Regions from separate parts of the Homo sapiens genome. Here region 1 is linked to region 2. The links are contacts of gene promoters, found by promoter capture Hi-C in human tissues and cell types (Jung and others, 2019). All regions are on one chromosome and are shown on one strand. Each heading gives the region's core, a stretch centred on a gene start or on the middle of the fragment in contact. The rest is flanking DNA. Distances are from core to core; before and after follow the strand shown.

Region 1 (4,724 bases), core at 1,015-3,514, 220 kb after region 2:
TATCAGTTAGTGTGTGGGTGCTTGTAAATGAGCAGAGACGGGAAGCTATCCAGGAAGTGTTTGAATAATCACTGGGATTTTGCTAAAATCCTGTTTTCTACTTTAATCCTTTACATGTATAGCATAAGGTGGTTTTAATATGCACAGCAGTTTGTGACTTAGATTCTGGAGCCTAGCACCCAATCTAACACTCCAGACTTAGCACTGCTAAAGCTGAGAAACCTATTCTGGCTCCTGGTCTCTTAATCCTGGGTAAGGGCATCACTATTTGCTCAGTATCTGAACCTAGAAACCTCGACCTTTTCCAAGGATGTCAGCTCCCTGGCATCTTCACCAGGCAAGTCCATTTGGTCACCAAATCCAGCCTACTGTGCACTTGAACAGTCCACACACTGCGACTGCCCTACTTTATGTCCTTGCCATCTCCTCGAGGCCCATGCTCCAGCACCCTGTCCTCTGAGCCTCTGATCCCACCTTCCTTCTGTCCAGCCTCCCCATTGCCCCCTGACCACTCCCACTGTCCACTACTAGATCATAGCTCATAGCTTCAGCCAGCCTTCTTGACCTGGTCTTAGCCTATCTGTCCAGTGCCATCTCCCACCGCCCCAACCCCCAGCACCAAGCTTTCACCATTCCCAGAAGCCACCAGAGCCCTTCCAGCTGTTGTACCATTGCATGTGCTTGGGCCCTGCTGGAGGTACCTTTACACCCCTGTCTTTACCTACTTAGCCCCTTTTCTCCCATCAGGTCTACCCAATTGTCACCTCAAGGATCTAAGCCAAGTCCATTGGCTTTGGAATTCCTTTTGTGTGCCTCTGTTTTAGCACATGGGTGTTTCCCCTTCTTGCCCTAAGGTAGGCCTCTCAGGAGCTGAGGCCTCACCTTAGCCCTTTCCTGTCCAGCCTCTAGCCTGGCACCTGGCACCAAGAAGGCACTCAGTCATGGTGGACACACATGTCTCCCATCCAAGTACTAACCAGGCCCGACCATGCTTATGGTGGACACATATGTCAGTGAACACTTCCTCTTCTGCCCTGAATTTGCAGATGACACTTCTGAGATTCTGGCTAGACATCTCCACATATGTGACCAACAGAGTCTCAAAATCAAGCTGTGCATAAACAAAATGTGTCTTCTTTCCTGAGACTCAATCTGTGAGTTGTCCTTTCTTATCCTTATAACTTGAAGTTGTAGTCACCTTTCACTACTCCTCACCCCCACAGTCCCCCACATCTGATGACTTACCAATTTCTCTTGCCTCCACCACTGAGATAGCTTTTAAATCTGTCCAATCCCACTGCCCTAGTTTAATTCTCTATCCCTCACGCGGGCTGTTGAAATAACCTCCTAACTGCTCCCTGTCTTTCCTTTCGCTTCATCTCCCAAACCACCATCCTCTAAACACAAATGATCATGCCATTTTTTGGCCTGCTCAGTATCTTGTGTGGTCTCTCCATTTGCTACTCTTCGGCACGGGCTTTATGATTTGACTTAACTTCATGCCTCCCACCTGCCCTACCCTCCAGCTACCTGCTAGCACTCATCCAAGCCACATGGAACAGGGATGGCCTTTATATCCACACCTCTATGGCTGTGGTCATCCTGTTCCTTTCTTTATATCCACTTATCAAACTCCTACTCATCCACTTAAGCCCAACTAAAATATACATTCTCTGAAGATTCCTTATTCCCCCAGGCAGAATTAGATATTCCCTCTTCTGGATTTTAATTATACCTCAGTTATAGCACTTACCATTATCTGTGTAAAAGGAGGCTTTGTTTTGTGAGCATCTGTCTCAAACTCAACTGTAAAATCATTAGGGAAAGATGACGTCTCTTATTCGTGTTTCCTCTTCTCCCGCTCCAGCCCCATAATGGTCTCCAATAAATGAATAAGTGAATGACCAATGCTGATATTTGTTTCATTTCTCAAACATTAGCTTTTGAGCTCCCTATGCAGGGACCAGGCTTTCATCTTTATATGTCTTCCAGTGCCCAACACAGTGACTTGTATATTATAGGTACGCAGTAAATATTTGTTAAGTTGGACTGACAGCTAAATAATTCTATCATTTGAGTAATGTTTCATTGAGGACAGAATTTTTGCACAGAGCATACAATTTCAACCACCAATGACTCCTGCTTGGCTGCATGCAAGAACATCAATTTTGCAGCCATGAATGTGACTAGCATTACCCACGGGTAAGTGCTGATTGACGCTAACTGTAGATGCAATGGAAATATTAATGAGCTGTTGCTTCTTAAAATGTTTAAAGGAGATTTTTGCAATATTTAAAAACATGCCAGGAATCTCAGAATGGAATCCTTTGATCAGCAAGGGCATTTGCCTTTGAAACATGTATTACTTAGAATACCAAAAGAAATTAAATTTAAATGGGGTGGGGGGCAGCTAACACAGAGAATAGCTGATTGCACAGCTAGTTGCCCTGGGTATATGTGGAGTTAGTGTTTCATTAGGCACTAGAACTTTGGGCAAATTCCTTAACCTCTCTGATCATCATTTCCCTGAATTGTAAAATGTATATTAAAATATATCACCATTGGTGTGCAAGAATTGCCTGACACAAGTGCCTGCTACCAAGCAAGCACGCAGGTGATGGTGATGGTTCTTTTTGTTCTATTGTGGCGTCACATTCAGGCATTCAGGCGGAAGCCCAGATTTCCGCACCAGCCCCAGTTGATCTGAATCCTGTTCAGATCTTCTTCTTGAAGCTGTCCATTTTTTGGATTTCTTTAATAAAAAAGATTATCTTTATCATAGGTAAAAGTGTAGAAAGATAGGTCCCCAGTGGTGGCTCGCCATGGATGATGGGATGTAGTGTGATTTTCATTTTTGTGTTGCTGGTTTGGGGATTTGGGATAAGGGTTCTTGTTTATTTTTTTTTTCTCCTCTGTACTTTCTCAGCTGTCTGAAGTGGTTATGTATTTATTGTGTCATTGTTTTTTAAGGGAAAAAAAGAGTTATCACTAAATCTCTTTAAAAATAAATTACTTTAGCATCTGCTGACAGTCTGCCAGTGTTTGCACCTATGTATTGCAAAGACAGGAATACCTCCCAGTGCCCTAGAAATTGTAGGTGAAATCTTCTGTCTGCGTCTTGAAGCTCTCAGCTGTGTGTTTGTTTTGTTCTTTTTCTAGGTTACAGCACCATGAGCCCACAGGAGGACAGTGAAAATCCTCCATGCAACAATGACCCCTTGTCAGCCGGGGTCGATGTGGGAAACCATGATGAGGACTTAGACCTGGATACCCCCCCTCAGACTGCTGCCCTACTAAGTCACAAGTTCCACCACTACCGGTCACACCACCCTACACTTCATCATAGCCACCACTTACAGGCGGCCGTCACGGTACACACTGTCGATGCAGAATGCTAACAATCTCCTCACCTCCACGCCAAGATGAGATCTGGGAGCTACAGAATGTTCTGGAAAGAAAAAGAACCGGCTTAAAACCCACAGCAAGAGACCTCCCTTGTGTTTGTGCTTTGTGCAGAGTTGTTTGAGTCATTTCCTGCCTGTCGACATGGTTAAAAACGAGAGAAACAACAACACAGTCACATTTGTGAAGATGTGAGGCTGGTTCTGAAATGGAGGGGAAATAAGCCTGATGAACAGACCTGCCATAACACTAATGGAAGGTAACAGAAGGCGAACCTCCAAACACAGAGACGGAACCTGCAAGTGAAGCTGAGCCAGAGGAATGTTCCAAAGAGCCAGAAGCATTCAGCTCTCCTTAACTGGAAGAGAGAAAAATCTGCTCACCCAGAGACTGGAATGTGGCACATGCAGATACAAATGTGTGCATTGAAGATTTCGCTTTGTTTCTTAGCGGTACCTGGATACCACAGTTGCTGTATGGAACTCATGTTATGCTCTAAACGATGCATCTCAGAATTTCTAAGTAAAGGATTATTTTTCTACTATTTATTGAACTTTCAAACATTCTCAAACTTTGGGGAAAAGGAAAGGAAACACAGGAGAAGTTTTCAGCAGTTGCCCCGAGCTGTTTTGTGTGTAATGAAGTGGTTCTTTGATTAAGGAGCTCTATTTCTTATTTAACTGATATCCCACTGCCCCACTCCACAAAATAGGAAAATGAAGAAATCTTTCTCTCTGACTTGTTTACATCATTTCACGGAAACACATCTTTGTTTGTAATGCAGTATTCTTTCTCTGTGTTTGACAGAGATGGGGAGGGGCAGAGGAATTTAAGAGGTTTTAAAAGAAATGTTATGTTTCTTATGACTTGTTTCCACTCCTCGTACAATGCTATTCTTAGGTTTCTACGAAACCTAATGTTAGAACCGCATCCTTTCAGCTAAGGGAGGGTTGGATTTATTTTCCTTGTTTTAGAGACTACAAATTTTTAAATATCCCATTTTGACTGAGAATATTGACATATAAGGGAAGAAGTTTTCTAAATTGTGAAAGTCTGGTTCTTAATTAAAGAATTTTTTTTTTAATATCACGGTTAAAAGCTGCTGCCAGTTAGCCAAGACATTATCCACCAAATTGCTTTGTGATTTATACAGGGATTAATCAAATCTGGCTACTATAACATGGGGCATTGTAACTTTAAAGTAGTGTTTTAATTACAGTGATGTATTTTAGACTCACATTTTGTGATTCAAATATGTTATAAAGGCATTCTTGCACCATGGTAAAGAATGTGTGTGGTAAATCTCCGTTTATATGTAGTTG
Region 2 (4,333 bases), core at 1,686-4,185:
CACCACCATCTAAAAGTTGTATTACCTTGGGCAAATAACTTTATTTCTTTGAGGCTTTTCTCTATTGGCAACATAGGAATAGCCATAAGTTCCTTTCCGGGTACTGAGACCCTCCTAGCTATAGACACTGGGCTAAATAGAGCTCCAGGATGCATGAGTTACCATCCTGGCAAGCTTGCTTGCAGTCTAGCATTAGTTCATAAGACTAATGTCAGGGCGGGGAAGGGGGGTCTATAAAATGCATATTCCAGGACCCACCCCCCACCTCCAAAGATTCTGCTTTAGTAGACCTGGAATAGAGCACAGGATTTGCAGTTTATTAAGTGTCCTGAGGCTAGTGTGTTTGGTGGATCACACTTTGAGAAACAAGGTGGAGAAATCAAAGCTTTCAAGTGGAAAATCACAATGTTGCTTGTTAAGCGCTGAGGGGACATTAAGTGCTGAGAGAAGAACCAAGAGCTTTGGAGCACCAAAGAGGAGCCGTAAACTCTGTGGGGGTAGGTGTCACAGAAATGACACCTCAGCTGAATAGGGGACCTAGCAAGTGGAGAGAAGGGGAAGAATTTTGAGGCTGCCATATAGGTGTTTTCTGGGAGTGGTGAGGCAACTGAGGGGCACAGTGGCTACAAAAAGGCCAGAAGAGCAAACAGGGTCAGAGCACAAAGGGCCTTGTTTGTTAAGTTTACTTATCTGTGATGGGGCATCAGAAATGTTTAGATTAGTGAATGACAAGTTGAGATTTGACTTTTAGAAAGTTGATTTTGACTTCCATGTGAAGAACAGAATGAGGGGGAACAGAGAGACTGCACAGAGACCCATGAGGAGACTGGTCATAATACAGGCAAGCTGCAATGAGGAACTGAAGTCAGGCCATAGGATGCAGATGGACAGCGGGGGATGGACACGGGAGATATGTTGGGAGCTGGGGTGGATGGAGAGTGCGTACCTAGCTTGCAGAGTGGGTGACATCCACCTAGATTTGCAGCCAGACATGGATTTAGGTGGAACATGGGGGAAAGCAGTAATGAGTTTTCATTCAGGTATATCTACTAGAGAAGTCAGGAACTTGCTAGAAAAAATGGAGATCCAGGTTGAGCTTTATTTAGAAGTATGATAAACTCGTGTTTGGTAATAATTGAAGGCATAGATGTGGTCGAGAGTCCTCAAAAAGAAGAACCTTAGAGTGAAAAAAAGGTGACATTGGATTAGCATCCCAAGAAATAGGACCTCAAGAAATACCAACATATAAAAGATGGGCAATAAATGCCTATTGTGAAGGCATTTCAGAAGGAGTTTAGAGATGTGTGACACCTTGGTGATGGTAACCTTGAAGAATCAAATAAAAAAATAATGCTATATGTCATTATTATTTTTGTTCTTTACTCTTCCACTAATCACATGGACTAATATGCTTTCTCTTGCGGAGTGTCATGTCAAAGGTACAACAATTTAAAAAACGGAAGTTAAAGGATCATCTTTCTAACAAATGTCAGCTCAACTCCAGGAATAGAAGACATACAGGTAGGTTTTTACCTCATTATTAACTCAAGAATCATTTTTCCAGTACTACTATGTGCTTGTGTGGATGATGTGGAGGTGAAGGGATTGGTCCCCACACTCAACATGCTTGCCTTAGTATGTAAAACAAACATCACAGGCTAGGCGCAGTGGCTCATGCCTGTAATCTCAGCACTTTGGGAGGCCGAGGCAGGTGGATCACCTGAGGTCAGGAGTTTGAAACCAGCCTGGCCAACATGGCGAAACCCTGTCTCTACTAAAAATACAAAAATTAGCAGGGGAGTTGAGAATGGAGAAGTGATCTCAATGAGGTAAAAATGGGCCAGGGAGAGCTTACAAGAGAAGATGACTTTTTAATACAATATAGTCAAAGATGTAAAACAGAAGGTTTTGCTGTAAAATGAAAAGAGTCCTAAATCCAGGTTCTAATCCTGCTACCACCTCTGCTAGGTAACCCTGGACTAGTCCTTTAACCTTCCAGTGTTGGCTCTGTTCTCCAGGAACCTGCAAGCAGCAACCACACAGGGCTTGGAAGGGAGAGTGGCTGTTCTCCACACACAGCAGGTTGACTTGTTCCAGGTGCTTCCAACAGGTGATTTCTCAGCGAGCCTGAGCCAGTAGTCAGGGACAAACAGGAAGGTTAACCTTGCCTCTCCATGCTTGGGAGAACAGGTGTGTGCGCGGTGGACTCCGGTTCAGTCGTTCTTTTTCTTTTTTCTTGCTTTTGATGGGATCAGATGGTTCATTTCCAAAGAGAGACAGAGAGAACTGTATCGTATTTAGGAGCAATAGCCTTGGAGTAAGACTTGTGCTTAAACTCTGGATTTGTTTCTTATCCCCTGGGTGACCTCTGGCAATTTATTCCACCTCTCTAAGCCTCAGTCTTTGTTACCTAAAAAATTGGGATAAAGATACGTACCTCCTATGGCATGTCGCGGAGATTAAAGGATAATGTGCACACCCCCGAGCCCAGTGCCGGGCACACGGTGGCTGGTTGCAACAGAAATCTGTGGGTGGAACGCTAGCTAGCCATTGTGATGAATAACATCAAGGAGAGGGAGTGGACCTACACATGGCAGTCCCCTTCTTCCCCAACCGCTGCCAGGCAGACAGCCAGCGTCCTAGAACTTAAAGGACTTTTCGATGGCTGGAACCTGGGCCGGGTGGGCTCCCTGGCGCGGACGGAGGCGGGGAGCGCTGGCGGGGGTCTCCGTCTCCAGCCACGGGAAGGTCCGTGGGCTCCCCTGCCCGGGCTGGGCCGGTCCCCGAGCAGAGAGAGAGGCTGGTCCCCCGGCCCCCGGCGTCCCGGGGGGCAGGTTCTGAGGCGGGAGCCAGGGAGAGAGAGGAGGGGCAACCGGGGGAATTTCCCCGCCTCTCTTGCTGGTTCCATAAATCACCGCAGCCGCCGCGGCGGCCCAGCCGGGAAGTGCACAGAGCCGGAGCGCAGCGTGGTGGCACCAGACGCCTCCCTTTCCCCACCGCTTGCTTTCTTTCTTTCAGTTGTGTGGGTTTGTGAAGCCTCCCCTTTCCCTCCTCGCTCGGGTGGCTGCCCCAGTCTCGCAGCCCGGCCGCCGCTCCTCTTCCCCGGGGGCCGCCGTCAGTCCTCGCCGCCGCCTGCTCGCTGCGCTGGGACTCGCAGGAAGCGAGAGCCGCGCGGCTCGGCTCGGGCTCCGACTCCGACTCCGATTCCGACTGTCAGCCCCGGGGCCCGCGCACCCCGGCCTGCGGGCGCCCCTGCTCTCGGAGACGCCCTCTGCGCCGCGGGGCCCGTGTGGGCGCCGGGCTCCGGGGACCGCTCGGGCGGCCGCCTCCTACCCCCACCGCCGCGGAGCCCCGCGATGGTGGCCGCCCGCGCTCCCGCGCTGTAGCCGGGCGCCCCCTAAGTTTGGGAGCCTTCGCCACCGCGGCGCGGAGCAGAGCCTGCAACAGAGGAAGAAACTTTTGCGGGGTGCGCCGCGCTTTTGCGGGGGGCACCTCCCGCGGCCCGCTTCCCCGCGCCCGGAGCCCGTCGGCGGGGAGTGGGGGGAGGCAGCATGGCCCGCCAGCCGGAGGAAGAGGAGACGGCCGTGGCCCGGGCGCGGCGGCCGCCCCTCTGGCTGCTCTGCCTGGTCGCGTGCTGGCTCCTGGGCGCCGGGGCCGAAGCCGACTTCTCCATCCTGGACGAGGCGCAAGTGCTGGCGAGCCAGATGCGGAGGCTGGCGGCCGAGGAGCTGGGGGTCGTCACCATGCAGGTAAGTGGCCCCCGAGCTGGCCAGACATCCCGCCTTTCTCCTTTGCTCAAACTCCCATCCCACTCCCGGTACAAGTCCCCTGGACTGTGTGCATCGGCTCCTTGCATACATAGAGCCCGGCTTCCCGTCGGACCCCTCTGTCCTCTGCACAGACCCCCTGACAATACACCAACTCTTCTTCCATGCATTCGTCTACCCCTGCCCTTCTCTGGAGAATCCCCTGCCCTCTGCACGGAACCCACTTGACCCTGCACAGCCCCCCTCTTCTGAGTACCAGCGCCTTCATCTCGTCAAGGATTCTCCAGTTTCCTCGCACGTCTTCTCTAATTTGCACACATTTCCCATGTAGGCTTGTTTTCACCCTGCCACGCCTGCAAACTCCCCCTTTGTGTCCCCATCCCAGAGCAGCCAGCCCCGTCTGGCTCGGACGATTTTCCGAAGTCCCCACCCCACCCCCTTGACCGCGTCCTCGCGTCCTCGCGTCCTCCCTACCGAGGCGCACCAATGGGCGCCGGGAGGGAAGGCGCCGCAGAGTACGCAGCTGCCCCGGGGACACCTAGGTCCCGGCGGAGAGCGGCCCTCCG

Evidence for each region. The method cuts DNA at HindIII sites, captures the fragments that hold promoters and counts their contacts. A contact is called where the count stands out against the background at its distance.
Region 1: a contact is called between a fragment that was not itself captured here and the fragment with the promoter of CACHD1 in region 2, in 2 of the 25 tissues and cell types used here (bladder and neural progenitor cells).

What each region holds. Positions count from the first base shown.
Region 1 is chr1:64,688,164-64,692,887 of GRCh38, forward strand. It overlaps CACHD1 (cache domain containing 1), which reads left to right. Exons shown (of 27, transcript NM_020925.4): 27 at 3,160-4,724. The coding sequence ends at 3,398. Among named protein-coding and RNA genes, the nearest start is that of RAVER2, 55 kb to the right of the region's middle. The HindIII fragment of the contact is 8,353 bases long and covers 1-4,724 here.
Region 2 is chr1:64,467,194-64,471,526 of GRCh38, forward strand. CACHD1 (cache domain containing 1) reads left to right here and starts at 2,936. Exons shown (of 27, transcript NM_020925.4): 1 at 2,936-3,749. The coding sequence starts at 3,552. It overlaps LOC107984966 (a long non-coding RNA gene), which reads right to left and starts at 2,832. Exons shown (of 2, transcript XR_001738100.2): 1 at 1,993-2,832; 2 at 1,080-1,177. RefSeq lists a silencer at 3,146-3,265. The HindIII fragment of the contact is 8,534 bases long and covers 1-4,333 here.